Regions from separate parts of the Homo sapiens genome. Here regions 1, 3 and 4 are each linked to region 2. The links are contacts of gene promoters, found by promoter capture Hi-C in human tissues and cell types (Jung and others, 2019). All regions are on one chromosome and are shown on one strand. The core of a region is centred on a gene start or on the middle of the fragment in contact, and the rest is flanking DNA. Distances in the headings are between cores, read along the strand shown. Region 1 holds the start of CASP14 (caspase 14). Region 2 holds the start of RASAL3 (RAS protein activator like 3). Region 3 holds the start of OR1I1 (olfactory receptor family 1 subfamily I member 1). Region 4 overlaps NOTCH3 (notch receptor 3).

Region 1 (3,380 bases), core at 542-3,041, 420 kb after region 2:
CACCTCAGCCTCCCAAAGTGCTGGGATTATAGATGTGAGCCACTGCACCCCACCGGGAATGCTTTTTTTTTTTCTATCTAGATCCTTCTCTGACAATTTTGGTGGCATAATATCTGCTATGCCTTCCCCCATCAACCATCCATTCATCTATGTTTTTATCCATCTATCTATCCAGTCACCCATCAATTCATTCATCTATCCATCTACCATCTATCCATTAATTCATCATCTATCCATCCATTCACCCACTCACCCTTCCATCTATTCATCTGTCCATCTACTTATCTATTAATCAGTCATCCCATCCACCCATCCTTCCACCCGCACATCTATCTAGTCATCCATCAATCCAATTTAACATCCATCCTTTTATTCATCAACCCATCCACCAATTTATCTTTCCACTTACCTATCTATCCACTCATCCATCCATCCATCCACCCACTCACACATCTATTCATCCGTCTGTCTACCCATCTATTAATCAGTCATCCCATATACCCATTCATTCTTCCATCAACCCATTTATCTACCCATCCATCTATCTATCCATCCACTTATTCATCCAACCACTCATTCATTCATCCATCCATCCATCCATTCATCCATTATCTCTCTCTGTCTTCCATCCCTCCATCTATTCTATCTTCCAACTATCCCTCCATCTAGCCCTCCTTCTATCCATTCCTTCATCCATCATCTCTATCTTCCATCTATCCATCCACCTATTTACTTATCCATCTACCCACCCACCCATCCATCCATCCATCCATCAATCCATCCACCCACCCACCCACCTACCCAGCAAATATTTTCTGGGTATCTATTATGTGTTATGCACTTAGAATCCATTAAGTAAGACAGACATGCTCCCTGACTTTCTGTCCTTCTGTAGCTCTAGTCTGTGACAGAAATGAATATTAAATCTCTCTCTCTCTCTCTCTCTCTCACACACACACACTCACACACACACACAGCAAGTGCTGTGACGAAAGAGGAGCCAAAGATTGTGAGGGAGGAAGTGGAAGGAGCATAGCCCTGGAGCCAGAACCGAATCCTGCCTCAGTCCCTTCCCAGCTGTGTGACCTTCGGCATCTCACTCTCCTCTCTGAGACTCGATTTTCCCATCCGCAAAGGACCTGGGGAGAGCTCTAGGTGCTTAACAGCAATGGTGACCCAGGTAGGTTTTAGGATCCCTCTTGACCTCCTGGAACTTTCCTCTTCCTTCTCTGGACTCTCACAGCTCTGCTTGCTCCTACTTGAATTACAGCAGTGTTTTTGATTCTTACTCTCATGGCTGAACTGGCAGCTCAGTTTTCAGGACTGAAAGCCTGACTTCATTATCTCTGTCTCCATCATGGCCAACAGTGTGGCAGGGAGCACAGAGGTGGTGTTGGAGAGAATTTGCTGAGTAAACAAATAAGAAAAAAATGAACAGATGAAAAGAAAGAGGGGATGGATGGAAATTTCTTCCATTCTGCCAAAACTGGCCAGAGCATTAATTCATGAAGGGAGAGGGAGCGTATGTGTGTATGTGCGTGTGTGTGTGTGTGTGTGTGTGTGTGTGTGTGTGAGAGAGAGAGAGAGAGAGAGAGAGAGAGGCTAATATCCACCAAATCACTTACCAACTCTAGAGGCAGCTGTTCCTCAAGGCCAAGTTCAATCTCACTACTCTCCTAGTTGCCAATACTGAGCTGGGCACCGAGGAGGAGTCAGGCCCACGTACTGATCTTGGAGAAGGGGCTGACAGTGTGGAATCTCCCGGGGTTTCTCCTGAGAAGCCTGGTCTATGAATCGGGTGGCACAATCACCTGGCCCTTTATTGTCGGTGAGTTTTCTGTCACTCAAGAAACCTCATGACACACCCTTGGCACACAGCTGTGGTGTGGAAATGGAGCCAACGCCAATGGGATGAGTGATCGCAAGGCTGAGGGGACTCCCTCTGGCAAAGGTGGCCTAGGCAGAGAGTCTAAATGAGTCAGATGTCTGTGCCAGCCCAGCCACAACCTCTCCCAACCCCCATCCCATAGCCAGCCCATCTGGTTATTACCATCATCATTATGCCTAGTTTATTCATCTCACCTTCCACTGTGTAGATAACACCGACTTCACTTAGTTATTATCTCATCGAGTCTTCAAGAGTCTAGACAGATCAGTATTTTTGCTCCCATTTTGCAGATGGAGAAACTGAGGCTCATAGAGGTGAAATGACTGCCCAAGGTCAGCAATTGGCACAGTTGGCATTCAACCCTATAAGGGGTGAGGTGTGGTGGGTCACGTCTGTAGTCCCAGCGCTTTGGGAGGCCAAGGCAGGAGGATCGCTTGAGGTGAGGAGTTTGAGACCAGCCGGGGCATAGTGAGACCCTGTCACTAAAATAATAATAATAATAAAAATGATGGCATATACCTATAGTCCTAGCTACTCAGGAGGCTGAGGTAGGAGGCTGGCTTGAGCCTAGGAGTTTGAGGCTGCAGCGAGCTAAGATTGTGCCTCTGCACTCCAGCCTGGGTGACAGAGCAAGACTCTGTCTTAAATATAAAAACAAACAAACAACCCCTAAAATGTTCCAGCCCAGTTGCCTTAACTGATGCATCATGATGATTCCTCTCTTCCTCCTCCTCTTATTATTTTTCAGCCATTTTGTTTCATTTTATTTCTTATGTTAATAGTGAAACCAAAGGCGAACCTGATTAAGCCCTCCAGACTTAATCTGCCTTGCGTTTAATTGCTTACTTACTTTTAATTGCTTACTTATAGTTGATCTTAAAAGCGCCACTAGCAAGTCACGTAGCCAAATAATGCATAACTAAACTCCCACTGGCTTCCTTACAGATAACATTTTTGTCTGTGGGACACTATAGTAATGGGTGCTTAAAGTTGTTTTTCAGGAACTAGGTAGGAGGCAGCTCTTGTTTAGTTTAAGCCAGTGGAGATCACTGACCCTTCAACTGCACCTATGTGGGTAGCTGATATCAGAGGGCCGTAAACTCCACCTTCAGATCATGCTAAATGCTATTTTTTGCACAAATGTCCTATCTAAAGCCATGTAGCTCAACCATGCTTGCTCAGAAATTCTGATTACCTCACCTTCCCTACCTGCCAGTCACCTTTCTCCGTACTTTAGATCACCCCGTTTTCTATCCCATAAGCACCCTCAAACCCTATTTTTGGGGAGGAGAATTTGAGACCTGTTTTACCACCTCGTCGCTTAATTGCCTCATGAACGAACTCTTCCTCTTCTGCAAAATCTGTCATTACATTGATTGGCTTGCTGCACAGAGGAAGAACAAACTCGGTTCGATAGCAACAGCTTAAATGAGATATAATTTACGTATTATACAATTCACCCACCTGAAGTGTGCAATCCAGTGGGTTTCAA
Region 2 (3,576 bases), core at 293-2,792:
CTACTCAGGAGGCTAAGGCGAGAGGATCTCTTGAGCCCAGGAGTTAGAGGTTACAGAGAGCTATGATGGCACCACTGCACTCCAGCCTGGATGACAGACCTCATCTACAAAAAATAATAATATTCATATTATGTATAATGTAATATTATTTATATTACTATGTAATATAAATATTATATTTTTATTTTATGAGATCTATATTATTTTTATAGACCTCATTTATAAATAATAATAATAATAAGGGCCGGGCACGGTGGCTTACGCCTATAATACCAGCACTTTGGGAGGCCAAGGCGGGCAGATCATTTCAGGTCAGGAGTTCAAGACCAGCCTGACCAACATGGTGAAACCCCGTCTCTACTAAAAATACAAAAAAATTAGGCAGGCATGGTGGTGAATACCTGTAGTCCCAGCTACTCAGGAGGCTGAGTAGGGAGAATCACTTGAATCCGGGAGGCAGAGATTGCAGTGAGCCAAGATCGTGCCACTGCACACCAGCCTGGGAGACAGAGCGAAACTCCTTCTCGATAAATAAATCAATTAATAATAATAAGAGTAATAATAAATCTTGCCATCTTCCAGAAGCCCCCCTTGTACCCTCTTCCCAGCCACCAGTGCCTCCAAAAGAAACTGATACCCTGCTTGTTAGACATGGTTTTGCCTGCTTTAGGACTTTATGTAAATGGAATCACAAAGTGTATACTCTTCATTGTTTTGGGGTTTTTAAATTTATTTATTATTGCTTTTTAGAGATGGGGTCTCCCGAGGGCAGGGAGGGGAAAAAGAAAAAAAAAAGTTAGATATGAGGTCTCCCTATGTCACCCAGACTGGAGTGCACTGCCTATTCACAGGCATGATCACAGCTCACTGCAGCCTCGAACTCCTGGCCTCAAGCGATCCTCCTCCCTCAGCCTCCTGAATAGCTCAGATTACTGGCATTTTATGGCTTTGGTTTTGGTTTTGGCTCAACATTGTTTGTGATTCACCCAAGTTAAATCATTCTTTAGTTTGTTCTCACTGCTGTATGATATTCTGCTGTGCGAAGAGATCACAATTTATTCCTTCTCCCACTAATGGGTACTTAGGCTGCTTCCAATGTGGGGCTATTATGCATTGTGCTGGGGGGGCATATCTATTGGACGTCTACCTAGCAATGGAATTGCTGAGTCAGAGAAGATCCAGCTAGTAGTGTTAGTAGATCCTGCCAAACCGTTTCCCAACATGAGTGAATGGGTCTACACTCCGGCCAACTGTGGATTAGAGTTCTAGGTGCTTTGTATTCTCGCCAGCATTTGTTCAGCCTGTACTCATTTTGCAGAGAAGGCAACGGAGGCTCAGAGAGAGGGGCAAGTGCTGCCTCCCCGTCAGGGAGGCAGTCTGGGTCCTTCTTGCTAGAAGCCTGGTAACCCACCTCCTCTCTTCTCCTCCCTCGAACCTCCAGCAACCTGCCCGCACTGTGCCCTCCCAGCCTGGCTGTGGGGTGGGGTGGGACAGAGAGGGTCACGTGGAGTTGGGTTCCGAGGGAGGAAGCCAGGCGGGGTGCAGACGGCTGCTGATTCTGGGGCTGGTCAGGAAACCAAGGTAAGGGAGGGAGTGGAGGTGGGGGCAGGGGGATTCCTGGAGGCAGAGCTGAGGGTGGGGAGGGGGCCGAGATGAGGGCAGTATGTGGACAGACACTGGGCACTACTGTCACTCTCTCGTCCCCCAGGAGACCCCCCCCCCCAACCATGGACCCACCGTCGCCAAGCCGGACCTCCCAAACCCAGCCCACAGCCACCTCTCCGCTGACTTCCTACCGCTGGCACACAGGGGGCGGTGGGGAGAAGGCGGCTGGAGGGTTCCGCTGGGGCCGCTTTGCTGGCTGGGGCAGGGCCCTGAGCCACCAGGAGCCCATGGTCAGCACCCAGCCAGCCCCTCGCTCGATATTCCGTCGGGTCCTATCTGCGCCTCCCAAGGAGTCACGGACCAGTCGCCTTCGACTCTCCAAGGCCCTCTGGGGGAGGCATAAGAACCCACCGCCGGAGCCAGACCCGGAGCCGGAGCAGGAGGCCCCAGGTACATGGTTCCCCCACCCTGAGCTTGGGCCGGGCTGGGAAGCCGGATGCTTGGGTTTTGTCTGCCTCCGGAGCATCAACCATACAGACACAGGAAGTTGTGGGGAGTGCAAAAGCCCAGCAGGAAGCCGCTGGGGCCCAGCTACCCTGTTCCCTCTTTCCCCCTAAAGAGGGTAGGAGGAGTTGCCGGGGTCCTGTGGGCAGAGGGTCCATCTGAGGAAGGAACAGTGAATGTAAACCCGTGATAGTATTGTCCAGAGGCTAAACGGCTCTTGGCCCCAACGGGTCTCTCCTTCAATGGCTCAGGCCCATCCTTTCCTACCTGGATATCCATCTTCAGCCTGCCTCCTACTCTCCTACCTTCTAGCTTCCGTGTCTTTGTTCTGAGCCCTTAAGCCTCAGCCTCTCCATCAGTTCAGTGAGAATAATGATCTCCATTTTGGAGAGTATATAATTTTATTTGCTCATATTCATTCATTTATTCAAGCAGAGGTTTGTTGAGCTTCTATTGTATGTGCCAGGCCCTGATTTAGGCACTGAGGACACACTAGTGAAAGAGACAGATGACCCTCCCTGCCCCATGGAGCTCACAGTGTAGTGGAATTGACAGGAAATCCATCAACAAGAAAATGACAGATGGGCCAGGCATGATGGCTCACACCTGTAATCCCAGCACTTTGGGAGGCCAAGGTGGGTGGATCACCTGAGCTCAGGAGTTCGAGACCAGCCTGGCCAACATGGCAAAACCCTGTTTCTACTAAAAATACAAAAAAAAAAAAGTATCTAGGCATGGTGGCACATACCTGTACTCCCAGCTACTCAGGAGGCTGAGGCAGGATAATCGCTTGAACCCGGGAGGTGGAGGTTGCAGTGAGCTGAGATTGCACTACTGCACTCCCGCCTGGGCGACAGAGGGAGACTCCATCTCAATGGAAGAAAAAAAAAAAAAAGAAAGAAAAAAAATGACAGATGGTGCTAAGTGTCACACAGGGGGATCTAGAAGAGTAATGGATATCACAAGAATTAGGGCTCAGGAATGTAACACTAGCCTAGGGCCCAGCATTTTTTTTATTTTTTTTTTGAGATGGAGTCTCGCTCTGTTGCCCAGGCTGGAGTGCAGTGGCGCGATCTCGGCTCACCGCAAGCTCCGCCTCCTGGGTTCACGCCATTCTCCTGCCTCAGCCTCCTGAGCAGCTGGGACTACAGGAACCCGCCACCATGCCCAGCTAATTGTTGTATTTCTAGTAGAGACAGGGTTTCACTGTGTTAACCAGAATGGTCTCGATCTCCTGACCTCATGATCCGCCCGCCTCAGCCTCCCAAAGTGCTGGGATTACAGGCGTGAGCCACCGCGCCCGGCCCCAGGCCCAACATATTTTAAGTGATCCGTTAATAAGCGGGAGTTATCATTTATTGCTCCTGGTGGTAAAAACAAGGGAACAGACAGGCAATCTGGGAGGGCTAATTCAGCCCTCCTATTTCCTGGAAGCTCATTTAATTCTCACTGCTTATATTCCCATTT
Region 3 (3,289 bases), core at 739-3,238, 380 kb after region 2:
ACTGGGGCTGAGCGAGCTGCCAGGGGCACTCAGCTTGCAAGTGCCTGATCTCGCCTTTGAATTTAGACTTATTTTCACTCTCATACTCCACTGCCTCCCTAAGAATGGCCACTCTCACCTCTTTATGAGGCATTTCGAAGCTAAATTCTGTGCTGTCAACACGTGCAAGGGAAAAATATTCAATTACAAGCATTTACACGTGTTTCTTTTCGAGACAGAGTCTCACTCTGTCACCTAGGCTAGAGTACAGTGGCACGATCTCGGCTCACTGCAACATCCGTCTCCTGGGTTCAAGTGATTCTTGTGCCTCAGCCACCCGAATAGCTGGGATTACAGGTGTGCATCACCACGCCCGATTAATTTTTGTATTTTTAGTAGAGACGGGGTTTCGCCTCTACTAAGCCTGTTGGCCAGGCTGGTCTTGAACTCCTGACCCGGTGATCCGCCCACCTTGGCCTCCCAAAGTACTGAGATTACAGGCGTGAGCCCAGTAATCTCATCATTTCAGCGCCCAGCCGATGAAAGGGGTTTTTAGGAAGGTTAGCAGCATAATCTCCTTGGTAACCCCAAGAGGCCTTCAGCAAAGCCCTATGTTAACTTTTTGAGGCTTTTTAGTGTTGGACTTGAGGTTTTTGCAATGCAATGCTTGGTTTTCTCTAGGCTGGATAGAATACTGCGATTCCCTTCCTGGCAACATATTTGTAACAGTCCTCAGTTGTTGACTTGGGTTGCATAGAGCAGCGGTTCTCAACCTTGAGCACGCTTCAGGGTCACCTGGAAGGCTTGTTAAAACACAAAAAGCGGGCCAGGCATGGTGGCTCACACCTGTAATCCCAGCACTTTGGGAGGCTGAAGTGGGAGAATTGCTTGAGGCCAGGAGTTCAAGACCAGCCTGGCAGACAAAGTGAGGCCACCCCACCCCCAATCCCGCCCTGGATCTACAAAAAATAAAACAATCTGCTGGGCATGGTGGCATGCTTCCATAGTCCCAGCTACTCAGAAGGCTGAGGTGGGAGAATCCCTTGAGTCCAGGAGTTAGAGACCAACCTGGGCAACACAGTGAGACCCCCATCTCTACAAAATAAAAAATTAGCTGGACATGGTGGCACACACCTGTTAGTCCCAGCTGCTTGGGGGGCCAAGGTAGGAGGATCTCTTGAGCCCGGGAGTGTGAGACCATCCTGGGCAACATAGGAAGATCCCTGCCTCTACGAAAATAAAATTAGCCAGGCATGGTGGTATATGTCTGTTATCCCAGGTACCCGGGAGGCTGAGGAGGGAGGATCACTTGAGCTTGGGAGGTCGAGGCTGCGATGAGCTATGATAATGCCACTGCACTCCAGACTGGGCAACAGAGCGAGACCCTGTCTCAAAAACAGAAAGAACAAACAAACAAACAAAACAATCCCCCCGCCCCCTCCCCCCCGCTCCCAAACTCATCATACACAAAAAGCTAAGCCCTTTCCCTGAAATGTCTGGTGTAAGAACCAGCACTTCTAGATAGTTTCCAGAGGATGCTGGTGCTTCTAGCCCAGGGACCACACTTGGGGAGCTGCTGCATTGGAGAAACTTGTTTCTCAAGACCTCTCCTATCTGTGCAGGTGTCCTGCAGCTGCAGACCCTCAGTGCTTTTCCTCCACATATCCTGCCACAGAGGGTCTGCCGTCTGCGTGCTTTGTCCACTCAGAGAGTCTAGACTTGGTCTCAGTCTCTTCTCTCTCTCTCGGCCTCTAGGAAGGAGACAGATTCCTCTCCCACAACCCTCCACCCCCACCCTCAGCTCAATCCTTTCCCCATCCCTCACCTGCTCACCAGGATGGCATCACCAAGGGGAGGGTCCCGGGAAGCCTCCTTCTCCACCAACTGCTAGAGGATCCCGAGGTCAGCACTAAACCCCTAGGAAGGGCATGGGGGCTACTCACCTGTGATCGCTGGGGTTAGCCTGATGTCTATGGGAAGGATTCATATGTGTACCCCCCCGCCCCCAGACTCTGCAGGTGAGTGGGGGAGCCAGGGGAACATCAGGGTATTTATAGTCTGGGGACTCTAGGAGACTTCGTCCCCATAGCTCCTTGTTAAGGAAGCGGATGCTAATTATTTTGTTTCTCCTCTGCCACATGTGACCTGTTCTTTTGGAGATGGGTGTGCTTTGGGATCATCGAGTGGGTAAGAAGAGGAAACAGTGACTAGGGATTCACTCTCACTAGGACATCTCCCTACGGTCTCCTTCCAGCTCAGGCTGAGCTTCATGGAAGCTCCCAGGCAGAGAGGTCTGGGGGGTCCCAGACTCCAGTCGGGCACTCAGATGCCTGAATCTGAGAGGTCCTTTCATTCATTGCATTATGGAAGAAACTGGCTCATTAAGGAAAGCTCCGAAGAGTATCAATCAATCAATAAATCGGTATTAAATAAATAAATTTATCAAACACTTTTTTTTGAGATGGAGTGTCACTCTTTCACCCAGCCTGGAGCACAGTGGAGCAATCTCGGCTCACTGCAACCTCCACCTCCTGGGTTCTAGCAATTCTCCCTCCTCAGCCTCTTGAGTAGCTGGAATTACTGGTGCCCACCACCATGCCCAGCTAGTCTTTGTATTTTTAGTAGAGACAGGGTTTCACCATGTTGGAAAGACTGATCTCAAACCTCAAGTGATCTGCTCTCCTCGGTCTCCCAAAGTGCTGGGATTACAGGCCTGAGCCACTGTACCCGGCCTATCAAACACTTCTTGATCACCTGCTTGGCACTGGAGTTGGACACGGTGGCTCATGCCTATAATCCTAGCTACTTGGGAGGCCAAGGTTGGAGAATCCCTTGAGCCTAGAAGTTTGAGACCAGCTTGGGCAAAACAGCAAGACCTTATATCTACAAAAAATTTAAAAAAATTAGCCAGGATTGGTGGCACATGCCCGTGGTCTCAGTTACCCAGGAGGCTGAGGTGGGAGGATCACTTGAGCCCTGGAGGTTGAGGCTGCAGTGAGCTGTGATCGCACCACTGCATTCCAACCTGGACAACGGAGTGAGACCCTGTCTCTTAAAAAAAAAATCCTTCCTATCAGCCACACAGAACGTGTGTAGGATACTTGTTGAAATTCTCCTAGGGGCTTTAGTAAATATTAGAATTACTTTCCCTAATAATATTGGCTGTTGGACTGTTGGCTCTTGGATCGTAACTCTGTGGGGAGGTCAGCTTCAAAGCAAGAACAAGGTAGACCAACTTCGCGTTGGACATATGGGGATATGAGTAGGTGCCAATCCCACTGTCATTATTTTTTTAAAATTAAAATTATTT
Region 4 (2,700 bases), core at 201-2,700, 270 kb after region 2:
GTGCACACCTGTAATCCAAGTCTCTCAGGAGGCTAAGGCACGAGAGTAGCTTGAACCCAGGAGGTGGAGATTGCAGTGAGCCAAGATTGCACCACTGCACTCTAGCCTGGGTGACAGAGTGAGACTCCTTCTCAAATTTAAAAAATAAAAAAAAGATTATGCTAGGCCGGGCACAGTGGCTCATGCCTGTAATCCCAGCACTTTGGGAGGCCAAGATGGGAGGATCGCTTGGGCCCAGGACTTTGAGACCAGCCTGGACAACATAGTGAGTTTTTGTCATCTCTACAAAAACTTGGTAGGCTGGGTGTGGTGGCTCACGCCTGTAACCCCAACACATTGGGAGGCCCAGGCGGGTAGATTGCTTGAGCTCAGCAGTTTGAGACCAGCCTGGGCAACATGGCAAAACCCTATCTCTACCAAAAATACAAAAAATTAGCTGGGCATGGTAGCGCATGCCTGTAGTCCCAGCTACTCTGGATGCTAAGGTTGAAGGATGGCTTGAGCCCAGAAGGTGGAGGTTGCAGTGAGCTGAGACTGAGCCACTGCGTTCCAGCCTGGGAGACAGTGTAAGACCGTGTATAACAAAAAAGAGAGAGAAAAAAAGATGATGCTGGAGGCAGCTTTAGTGGGGAAGTGTAAGCCTGGGAGAGGCTTGGGAGGAGGCTGACATTGCACTGATGCATGGCTCAGGGCAGAAGCCATTGGAATGGGGAACTCCTGGGAGTTACCTTTGGAAGTGGCAAAGATCAGAGAACATGTTTAGGAGGGGAACGTGGATATAGAAAGAGGGCATACATGGCAGAGGGTATTACAGAAGCAAAGGCTGGAGTGTAGGACCCTTTTGTAATCAGAAGAGTCAAAAGGTTTTAAAACAATATGTGGATGTTTGCAATTTATTTTATTTTATTTTTGAGACAGAGTCTCACTTTGTCACCCAGGCTGGAGTACAGTGGCATGATCTCAGCTCACTGCAGCCTCGACTTCCTGGGCTCAAGTGATCCTCCCACCTCAGTCCCCCAAGTAGCTGGGATTACAGGCGTGCGCCACCATGCCCGGCTAAGCTTTGTATTTTTTGTAGAGACGGGTCTCACTATATTGCCCAGGCTGGTCTTGAACTCTTGAACTCAAGCGATGCACTCACCTTGGCCTCCCAAAGTGCTAGGATTATAGACGTGAGCCACTGTGCCCGGTCTGCAATTTATTTTTAAATGGTTTAGAAAAGAAGATTGGTAGATTAAGCTAACAATAGTTGAATCTAGGTGGTGGGTATATGAATGGTCAACTTTTCTGTATGTTTGATAGTTCTCATAATAAATGGATTAAAAAAGCAGCTACTAAATACTGTTTAGGTTTAATAAAAACAACAGGCCGGGCGCGGTGGCTCACGCCTGTAATCCCAGCACTTTGGGAGGCTGAGGCAGGCAGATCACCTGAGGTCAGGAGTTTGAGACCAACCTGGCTAACTTGGTGAAACCCCGTTTCTACTAAAAATACAAAAAATTAGCCGGGCGTGGTGGCACATGCCTGTAATCCCAGCTACTCGGGAGGCTGAGCAGGAGAATCGCTTGAACCTGGGAGGTGGAGGTTACAGTGAGCCAAGATCGCGCTATTGTACTCCAGCTTGGGCAACAAGAGCGAAACTTCGTCTCAAAAAACAAAACAAAACAACAACAACGACAAAACAATACTCAAGGGGTGTGGGCCTTTTGGGCAGAGCAGGAAGATCTGCCTATGACTTCTGCTTACCACTTCCCAGGCCTCCTGTGTCACCTGGATGACGCCTGTGTCAGCAACCCCTGCCACGAGGATGCTATCTGTGACACAAATCCGGTGAACGGCCGGGCCATTTGCACCTGTCCTCCCGGCTTCACGGGTGGGGCATGTGACCAGGATGTGGACGAGTGCTCTATCGGTGAGGGGAGCTCCATCGTCTGTGAATGGGCTGGGAAAGAGGGGAGAGGAGGGGGTCCCGGCCAGCCACGCCCACACCGATCGCACTCCATCCGGCAGGCGCCAACCCCTGCGAGCACTTGGGCAGGTGCGTGAACACGCAGGGCTCCTTCCTGTGCCAGTGCGGTCGTGGCTACACTGGACCTCGCTGTGAGACCGATGTCAACGAGTGTCTGTCGGGGCCCTGCCGAAACCAGGCCACGTGCCTCGACCGCATAGGCCAGTTCACCTGTATCTGTATGGCAGGTGGGTGGTGGGCGTGGCCTGGGCGGGTCCTGAGGCAGGGGGCGGGGACAGAGAAGCCCGCGGATGGGGAGCTGAGCAGAATGGGGTGTAAGTGGGTTTGGAGTGGGACCCTTAGAGACTGAAGCCTGGAAGGAGGTGGGGTCAGGACCAGAAGGGAATACTGTGTGATTCTGGGGGCTTGGTCAAATGGAGTCAGTAGAACCTCAGGTGGGCTGGGAGTATTCTTGGCCTTAGGACCCACTCGGGAAGGGGTTGGGGATAGAGAGGCAGAGTCGGGGCTGCTGTGAGGTCAAGGTGAAGCCTGCAGACAAGCTTGCAGTAAGCCTGGGCAAAGGCTATGGGGGGCCCTGGGGCTGGGGGCTGGGGACTGGGGAAAGGGCTTAGTCTGAGGACTGGGGAGAGGAGGAGGGGTTTGAAGGCAAGGCCTCTGCGGACACCCATGAGCCTTGGGCCAGTTGGGACCACGGCTGGGTGACAGTCCAGCCTGTGGCTGAAAATTAAGGT

Evidence for each region. The method cuts DNA at HindIII sites, captures the fragments that hold promoters and counts their contacts. A contact is called where the count stands out against the background at its distance.
Region 1: the fragment with the promoter of CASP14 here is called in contact with the fragment with the promoter of RASAL3 in region 2 in 2 of the 25 tissues and cell types used here (IMR-90 fibroblasts and heart left ventricle).
Region 3: the fragment with the promoter of OR1I1 here is called in contact with the fragment with the promoter of RASAL3 in region 2 in 3 of the 25 tissues and cell types used here (heart left ventricle, heart right ventricle and small bowel).
Region 4: a fragment that was not itself captured here is called in contact with the fragment with the promoter of RASAL3 in region 2 in 2 of the 25 tissues and cell types used here (aorta and heart left ventricle).

What each region holds. Positions count from the first base shown.
Region 1 is chr19:15,047,891-15,051,270 of GRCh38, reverse strand. It overlaps CASP14 (caspase 14), which reads right to left and starts at 1,791. Exons shown (of 7, transcript NM_012114.3): 1 at 1,626-1,791. The HindIII fragment of the contact is 29,360 bases long and covers 1-3,380 here.
Region 2 is chr19:15,462,510-15,466,085 of GRCh38, reverse strand. It overlaps RASAL3 (RAS protein activator like 3), which reads left to right and starts at 1,542. Exons shown (of 18, transcript NM_022904.3): 1 at 1,542-1,581; 2 at 1,709-2,055. The coding sequence starts at 1,728. RefSeq lists enhancers at 1,199-1,308, 1,949-2,078, 2,179-2,318. The HindIII fragment of the contact is 13,394 bases long and covers 1-3,576 here.
Region 3 is chr19:15,080,910-15,084,198 of GRCh38, reverse strand. OR1I1 (olfactory receptor family 1 subfamily I member 1) reads right to left here and starts at 1,988. Exons shown (of 2, transcript NM_001004713.2): 1 at 1,923-1,988. The HindIII fragment of the contact is 16,029 bases long and covers 1-3,289 here.
Region 4 is chr19:15,188,485-15,191,184 of GRCh38, reverse strand. NOTCH3 (notch receptor 3) reads left to right here. Exons shown (of 33, transcript NM_000435.3): 7 at 1,757-1,912; 8 at 2,011-2,196. Among named protein-coding and RNA genes, the nearest start is that of MIR6795, 10 kb to the right of the region's middle. The HindIII fragment of the contact is 6,552 bases long and covers 1-2,700 here.